Linked DNA regions of Homo sapiens: region 1 is linked to region 2. The links are contacts of gene promoters, found by promoter capture Hi-C in human tissues and cell types (Jung and others, 2019). All regions are on one chromosome and are shown on one strand. Each heading gives the region's core, a stretch centred on a gene start or on the middle of the fragment in contact. The rest is flanking DNA. Distances are from core to core; before and after follow the strand shown.

Evidence for each region. Contacts are between HindIII fragments. The study calls those that stand out against the background at their distance.
Region 1: a contact is called between a fragment that was not itself captured here and the fragment with the promoter of CCKBR in region 2, in 1 of the 25 tissues and cell types used here (liver).

The regions. Positions count from the first base shown.
Region 1 is chr11:6,220,150-6,223,924 of GRCh38, reverse strand. It overlaps FHIP1B (FHF complex subunit HOOK interacting protein 1B), which reads left to right. Exons shown (of 12, transcript NM_001098794.2): 3 at 1-315; 4 at 687-845; 5 at 1,028-1,114; 6 at 1,316-1,483. Among named protein-coding and RNA genes, the nearest start is that of FHIP1B, 13 kb to the left of the region's middle. The HindIII fragment of the contact is 7,709 bases long and covers 1-3,775 here.
Region 2 is chr11:6,258,344-6,262,305 of GRCh38, reverse strand. It overlaps CCKBR (cholecystokinin B receptor), which reads right to left and starts at 2,468. Exons shown (of 5, transcript NM_176875.4): 1 at 2,227-2,468. The coding sequence starts at 2,377. The HindIII fragment of the contact is 2,957 bases long and covers 1,328-3,962 here.

The DNA of each region.
Region 1 (3,775 bases), core at 492-2,991, 38 kb after region 2:
CTGCTCACCCTGCTGGATGCCTGTGGCCGCCCTGTGCCCAGTAGCCCAGCACTGGATGAAGGCTTGGTGCTACTTCTCAGCCAGCTGTGTGTTTGTGTGGCCCAGGAGCCTTCATTGCTCGAGTTCTTCCTGCAGCCACCTCCTGAGCCTGGAGCCGCTCCCCGTCTTCTTCTCTTTTCTCGCCTTGTCCCTTTTGTGCATCGAGAGGGCACCCTGGGCCAGCAGGCCCGTGATGCCCTACTTCTTCTCATGGCTTTGTCAGCTGGGAGCCCCACTGTGGGCCGCTACATCGCGGATCACTCTTACTTCTGCCCGGTTAGCACCCCCTGGCTTGGAGGGTAGGGTGTGGTGTGTAGATACTGAACAGCACCTTCCTATCCAGGAGATGGGGAGAGGCTATGTTCCAGGGCCCGTTCCCCTAGGAAACAGTTCCTGGATTTGAAAGCAGCCCCCTGGAGTTGTAGTGGGGATGAATCATGGGCTTAGATGGATAGGGCAGATACTAAGTCTCTTTGTAGGCCTGTGAATTCTAGGTGAGTTTCAGGCACATTGGGTAGGCAAATGCTTGCTTTGGTAATAGCTTATACCCCTATTCCCATCAAAACTCTGGATTACTAGCTCCCCTGTTCCAGTTTTTATATTTTATAAATGTATTTTATATATGAGCTTTTGGTAACTTCTCATAGGTGCTGGCCACAGGGCTCAGTGCCCTGTACTCATCACTGCCTCGAAAGATTGAGGTTCCAGGGGATGATTGGCACTGTCTGCGACGGGAAGACTGGCTGGGAGTGCCAGCCCTTGCACTCTTCATGAGTTCCCTGGAGTTCTGCAATGCAGTAATTCAGGTAGGACTGAAAGTCTGGCCCTTGGTCATTTTTGGGAGATTAGGTAGGAGGGGGTATATTCCCTGGAGTTCTGTCATTTTTCCATCTTGGAAGTAGGATGCCTCTCTGTAGTGTACTATTCTACTCCCTTCCAGGCAGTGGTCTCCTCATAACCCTCCCCCTTCTCTCTGGCACTCCTACAGGTGGCTCACCCCCTGGTGCAGAAGCAGTTGGTTGATTATATCCATAATGGGTTCCTGGTGCCTGTCATGGGTCCTGCCTTGCACAAGGTGAGAGTCATGGGTGGCAAGGCATATAAGGGGCTAAGCTGCAGTGGTAACCTCAGTGACAGGACTAACGTAGGAGGCGGTGGGTAGAGTACTCCTCCCTTTTGCCCTGTCTGCTCCTGATTTCTCTTAGAATCCAGGGAAAATGGCCCTGTATGTGCAGGGAAGCTGTGCATTTCCAGACTTTCCCTTCTTTTTGTGCAGACCTCTGTGGAGGAGATGATCGCCAGTACCGCCTATCTGGAACTTTTCCTACGGAGTATCTCAGAGCCTGCTTTGCTCCGTACCTTCCTGCGATTCCTGTTGTTGCACCGGCATGACACCCACACCATCCTCGACACCCTCGTTGCTCGTATTGGCAGTAACTCCCGGGTATGGCCCTTACCCCTGTCCTAGCTTACCTGGATGACCCATCTTCTTTCTCTGACCTTTGTTCTGGGAGGGTATTCCTGCCCTTCTTTTGCCTGTATCTCCAGCAGTCACCTCAAAATTAAGTGGCATTAACTTTCCAGCATTAAACTTTTAACCATTTTGGGTACAGATTTTAATCTACTCCCCTGCTTTTATGATAGATGAATCTAGAACACAGTCACCTTTTCTGGATGACTTTGGCTGTTCATCATGACTATAGGTTTTGCTACTGTGCAGTGTTCGTAATGTAGTATTGGCCTGAGTTCTCTTAAACTGTTTATCACTCTGTGGCCTGCTTTGGGTGACTTGAGAGCACTTTAGGTTGTGTGTCTGCTTTGGTAGGTGATCCAGGTGCTACTGATATGCTTGCCTTCTTTCTCCTTTGGATTTGCTGCTTTTGAACTATAGCTTGGAGCACTCATCCACCCACCTATCTACTTTCGGTCCTTCCTCCTAAACATTTTTACTGAATGTTCACTGTGTGCCATACTGTTTGCTGGTGCTGGGGATACAGTGATAAATAAGGTAGACATTGTTGCTGACTTCATGGAGCTTACTTTGTAGAGAAGACAGACAAGCAAACACATTAATAAGTTGTGGTCAGGGTTATGAAAAAACTAGAGTGCTTAGAAATAATAGGGTGGCCAAGGAAGACCTCTCTGAAGAGATGACATTGAACTGAGACATAGAGATTATAAAGGAGTTAACTTATTGATCAAGTAGAAGAACAGGAAAGCAAGGGGAACAGCATGCAAAGGACATCAAATGGGGGAAGAGCTTAACATGTTTGAGGAAATGAAAGACTAGAGGTGTAGTGAGCAAGGGGAAGAAGGGAATGAGATAAAAATAGAGGGGTAAAATTCAGATCATGCATGACCTGGAAGACCATGGCAAGAAGTTTGGATATTAACAAATAGAAATATATATAACATGGGAGTGGGTGGTTTCCAAGTTATAAAGACTTAAGCCCCTCTAGGAGAATAAAGCATTAATTTTGCCATGGACTTCATGGCATTTATTTTGCCTCTGGGACCATTTTTGCTTCCTTTTTTTATTATAAGTTAAAGTTTCCTGGATCCATGTGTTTAAAATAGAAGTTCTTTCATCACTAAGAGCTCTGGAAAACTTCTAGATAATGAGATACTAGATAGTAGAGTTCCAGGTCAGTTTCCTGGATAGCTGTGTTTTGTATAGGTGCAGTTTCTGAAGCTAAGTTAGGGTGTATAAGAAATATTCCAGACTGACTGATTAAACCAGTGTTTCTAAACCAAGTGTATACTTTAGAAACGTCTGTGAATCTTTGAAGATGACAACTAACAACTACAACAGATTCTGAGCTCTACCTCAGATTTCGTGAATCTTTGGGAGTAGGCTCAGGACATGTGTATTTTTAAAATTTTCCAAAAAGTAATCATGATAGATGCCTTGGGTTAAGATTTATTGGAACCAATAGGGAATAGGTATTAAAGCTTTAATTTTACAAAGATACCAAAAGTATTTTTTTTCCCTCATTATGCTGAAATTAGGCCATGATTGGCCTCATATTGTCCTGTTCATGTTTAGAGACAGTTGATTTTCTTTTTGAGGTTTTATCTGTTGTTTCTTCCTTTTGTCTTATCCTAACTTTGATTCTTACTCACTATCTTTCATTTTTTTAGTAGTTGTTTCTATTAGTCTCCCATTTGGTCCCCTGGTCTTAGGAGCCTTACATGTTCTTGGGATGTTTCTTCTTGGTTCCTGGTTCTTGGAGGAACAGATCTCTTCTAATTTCAGGATGCCCGTGTTAAACATGTAGATGCTTTCCTTTCCACTGTGGTCCTTTCAAGCTTGATTCTTTGGCTTGACTTTGTAACGTATATAGCCTGCCTTGTGTGCCTTGAAGTGACTAATTTTGGCTAACCAGCCTGTGTTAATTCCGTATTGCTGTCATAACAGATTATCAAACCTAATGCTTAAAACAGATTTATTGTCTTACAGTTTTGTAGGTCATATGTATGACCTGGATCTCGCCAGGCTAAAATCAAAATTTTGGGGGGTGGGGTCTGTGTTCCTTTCAGGAGGCCGTAGGACAGGATCCATTTCCTTATTTCTATTGGCAGAATTAATTTTCTAGCAGTTGTGGCATTGAGATCTCTGTTTTCTTGCTGGTTGACAACTGAAGAACATTCTCAGCCTGTAGAGCAACCAGATTCCTTGGCTCATGGCCCCCCTTCATCCATAGATAATAGATATCTATGGATCTCTATTATCTGT
Region 2 (3,962 bases), core at 1,219-3,718:
TTCTATACAAAATTTTATGATTTTAACTATTCTCGGGGCTTCTACATCCTGTAGGCAAAGACCTTCTTCAAGTCTGTATTTCCACCTCAGACCTCTCCTGTAAGTTCCAGACCCCTGGATTCAACAGCTTACTAGGTAACCTCACCTGGATGCCCCACTAACATTTAAACTCAATGGGTTCCAAACTGAATTTATAATTCCCTCTTCCAAACCTGTTTCTGCTGTTTTGTTATCTTTCTCATTGTATACAATTGCTATAGCACCAATATCCATTCAGTTGTCCAAGTTAGAAATCTGAATGTCATCCCTTGACCTCTTCCATCCTCTCTGCTTCTAATCTGTTGATTCCATTTCCAGAAGAGGCTCTCAAATCTATCCACCTCTCTCCATCTCCCTTGCCATTACCTTAGTCTCAGCTAGCATCATCTTTCACCCAGAACAGTGTAATATAGTAACCTTGTAAAGTATCCCCCTGCCTTCCATCTTATGTCTTCCAATCCGTTCTCCACATTATAGAACTAATCCTGGTAGTACTACCGAATCTTTTAGTAGTTCCTATTGCCCTCGGGAGAAAGTCCATGTTCCATGGTCAGGCCTAGCAGGCTCTCTGCAAACCCTCTAGGCTGGTCTCCAGCCTGTTCATTATTCCCTTCTTAAGATATATGTTCTAGTCACTCAAAACTATGTCACAGTGGATAAAAGTGCCATGAATTCAAACTTTGAGCTTCTTATACATCTTGTCCTTTTATTTGGGATGCTTTCTGCCTCTTCTGCCCGTTCACTTGGCTGGCTCTCCCATATGTATATGTGTGTGTGTGTGTGTGTGTGTGTGTGTGTGTGTGTATATATATTTTTTTTTTTTTTTTTTTTTGCCAACAGGAAGCTTAGAGCCAGCCTCCCTAATTTTTTTGACTTTGTAGCTCATTTCCTCAAGAGGCCAACTTTAATTCTCAAGGAGGCTGGGCTGGGCTAGAGGTGTTCCACTTGTGTTCCCACTATCTTTTCCCTGTCAAGGCTCTTCCACTTTGTGCTGCAATCCCCTGCTTTTCTGTCTCGCCCATTAAACTTTGAGCTCTGTGAAGTAGGAATTGTGTCGGTTTTGTTCAACTTACATTCCCACTGCCTAGCACAATCTCTGGTTCAATAAATATTGGCTGAATGACAGAATCCAAGTGTGAGTGTGTAACAACTCGGCTGAGAAAGCATAGATTATTTCGTGGGGTAAATAAATACTTGGATTACAATTTATTCCAACTTTCCCTTTTTGAGTTTAGAAAAATTTCCTTCTGCTTAACATTGCTCCTTCACCTAGAATCCCACTCCTTCCTTTTCTGCCTACTCAACTTCAAGACCCAGCTCTAAGGTTCTAGCCTCTGTGAAGTTCTTTTGGTGCCCACAGTTTAGACCCTTTCATGGGACTTCCATTGTGTCTGTGATTTTTCCATTTGCTTGGTTTCTCTCTGCACTTGGCTATGGGCCATGAGGGTCCAGACTGGGTCTAGTTTGCCCTGTGCCCCCAGCACCTAGCCTAGGGCTGGAGAGAGAGCTTGGAAGATAGCTGGAGACATTACTTGCAGACAAAGAGAGAGGGCACAGAGCCTCGAAAGCTCCAACTAGGGAGGCAGAGGGGTTTGAGAAGGAGTGAAATGGAGGCAGGCAGCTCTAAGGAGCATCCCCTAGTGTCCAGCCTAATTCAGATTTGAGGATCTTTTTTGGGATGGCTGGGGGCTGGGGTGTCAGATGTGATCACAACTTCAGCTTCGCATTCAAGCTTTCCAGAGTGCTCCCTCCCTCAACCAGCCCCCTTCTTTTCCCAGTCCTGCCTTCCTTTCTTCCTTCCCTTCTCTGTTGTGGCTCTGTGAACTGGATGTAAGAGGGAAAAGGAGATCTGCAGGGTTGGCAAGAGGAGGTCCTCGCCTTCTGACTGGTGTCTAGGAGGGGCTGCGTGTTGGGGAAGGGGCTGTGCTTTGGGGTGAGCAGGGGCTCTAGGTGTATTCAGGGGACCAGGATGTGAAGGAGTTCCGACCAGGTGGTGTGAAGCTGTGATGAAGTTGTAGGCTGTGGGGGTGAAGGTGTGAGGGGAGCTGTTTGGGGGCTGAGGGAGTACTATGAGAGGCACGGTGTGGACGTTTGAGAAGGTAGTGTGGAGCTCGTTGGGGGGACTCTATTAGTGTTCTGGGGTACAGTGAGAAATAGCTTGTGGGGGGGGCTGAGGGAGGCACCCACCTCGTGTCCCGGCTCCGCGAATGCGAGGGGGCTCGCAGCTGAGGTTGCCCACACTGCTGCTGTTGAGGAGAGGCGCCCCCGGGCGGCACAGGGAAGCCCCCGGCCCGGGTCCGGTTCCCTGCACGCTCCGGTTCAGCTTTAGCAGCTCCATGGCCCCCGCCGAGCCCGCCGCCTTACTCAGCTCGACCCGGCGGGCTCCCAACGCGGCTCCACCTGCTCACGCTGCGATTCCGGCTCAGGCTCCCGCCGCCCTCCTCTCCCTGCCCCCTGCCCCGCCTGGTCCCCGCCCCCAGCCCAGGCGCCTGCCCTCCACTCTCCCGCGGCTCGCCCCGCCTGGGTTCCCGTCCCTCCGCCAGCCTCTGTCCCGCCAGGTGACTGTGCACCCCCTCCCTGGCTCGGGAGTTCTGCCCCTCCCTGTGCGACTGTCCTCCAGGCTCGCCCCCTCCCTAGATGTGTCCCGTCTCCTCTTAGAGATTTCTCTCCTGCCCACCTCTCTTTATCACCCGCCCCCACCCCCGATTCCCAGGAATGAGAGAGAGAGAGAGAGAGAGAGAGAGAGAGAGAGAGAGAGAGAGAGATTGAAGACAAGAGTATTGGCAGCGTAGGGGGAGGTTTCGGGGAAGGGAGGGTAGGAGGGGTTGGGTAGAGACGGCTGCCACGGATCCAGCATCTTTCTCTGGTGTATCAGGGAACGTGGAGGTGGCGTTGGAGACCAGGTCTGCGTGCGTCACCTGCTGAGGCGCGGATGCTTTAGTCTGAGCCTAGAGCCGCATTTACCGTACTGTGTTGCAGTGGCCGCAGTGACCGTGACACTATTGCTACCGTAGTTCCCTGCAGCTCCTCGCTGCGGGCCTGGGGTAGCTCCTGCATCTGTCTCCGCACCCTCCATCTCCTGTCTGAGGCTTAACACTCAGGCTTGCACTTAAGGGTCCCAAGGAGCCCTCCACAGCTGGGCGGGAGTGGGGGTGGGGCCGGGGCCGAGATTTGGCTCCAGGGAAGCCTTGCCAGGGAAAAGGGCTCCCGGGAGGAAGCTTCTGACTTGAGTGTTGAGGGCAGTTGGGGGTGGTGGCAAGCACTGACAAGGATAAACCAGAGTAAGGTGAGGATGGGATATAATTCTAACGCCGGCCCAGCGCAGGCAAAAGAGAAGGAGAAGGTTGGCTTTCTCCACCGTCTCCAGGCAGCGCCCACGCCCACCCGACACGCTAACGCTCCCTGTTTGCTCTCAGTGCAGGCAGAGCTGCCTGTGTAGGGTGTCAGGTTCCCACGAGAGGGGGCTAGAAGGGGACTGGGTCACTGCGGTGCAGCGGGAACAGGGCTGAAGGGTGCAGGACTGAACTGGGTTCAGCTTCTCGGGGCAGGATTTGCCTCTTCTACTATTTCAGCCCTGCTCCCTATGCATTCTCCTATCCATTCCTTTTCTTCCCCAGATTCCTATCTCCAGATTCCTATCTCCAGATTCCTATCCATTCTTCAGATTCCGGATGAACTCCAATACGATGTGAAATTCTTCTGACCCCCAGCAGTAGCTGTAAGAGGTTGGGGGCGGGCATCAGTGGAAGAGCAAATTAGAGAATGGAGTCTGGCTTTATGGGGGATTCAGCAGGCCCTTATCCAATTAATCTTTTGGAGAGGACCTGGTTCAGCCAGCCCTGAGTTTATAGGGGCTGAAGCATTGAAAGAGAGTTGAAAGACAGTTTATGCCTGAGATGTCATCAACTGCTCCCCCTTTCCTT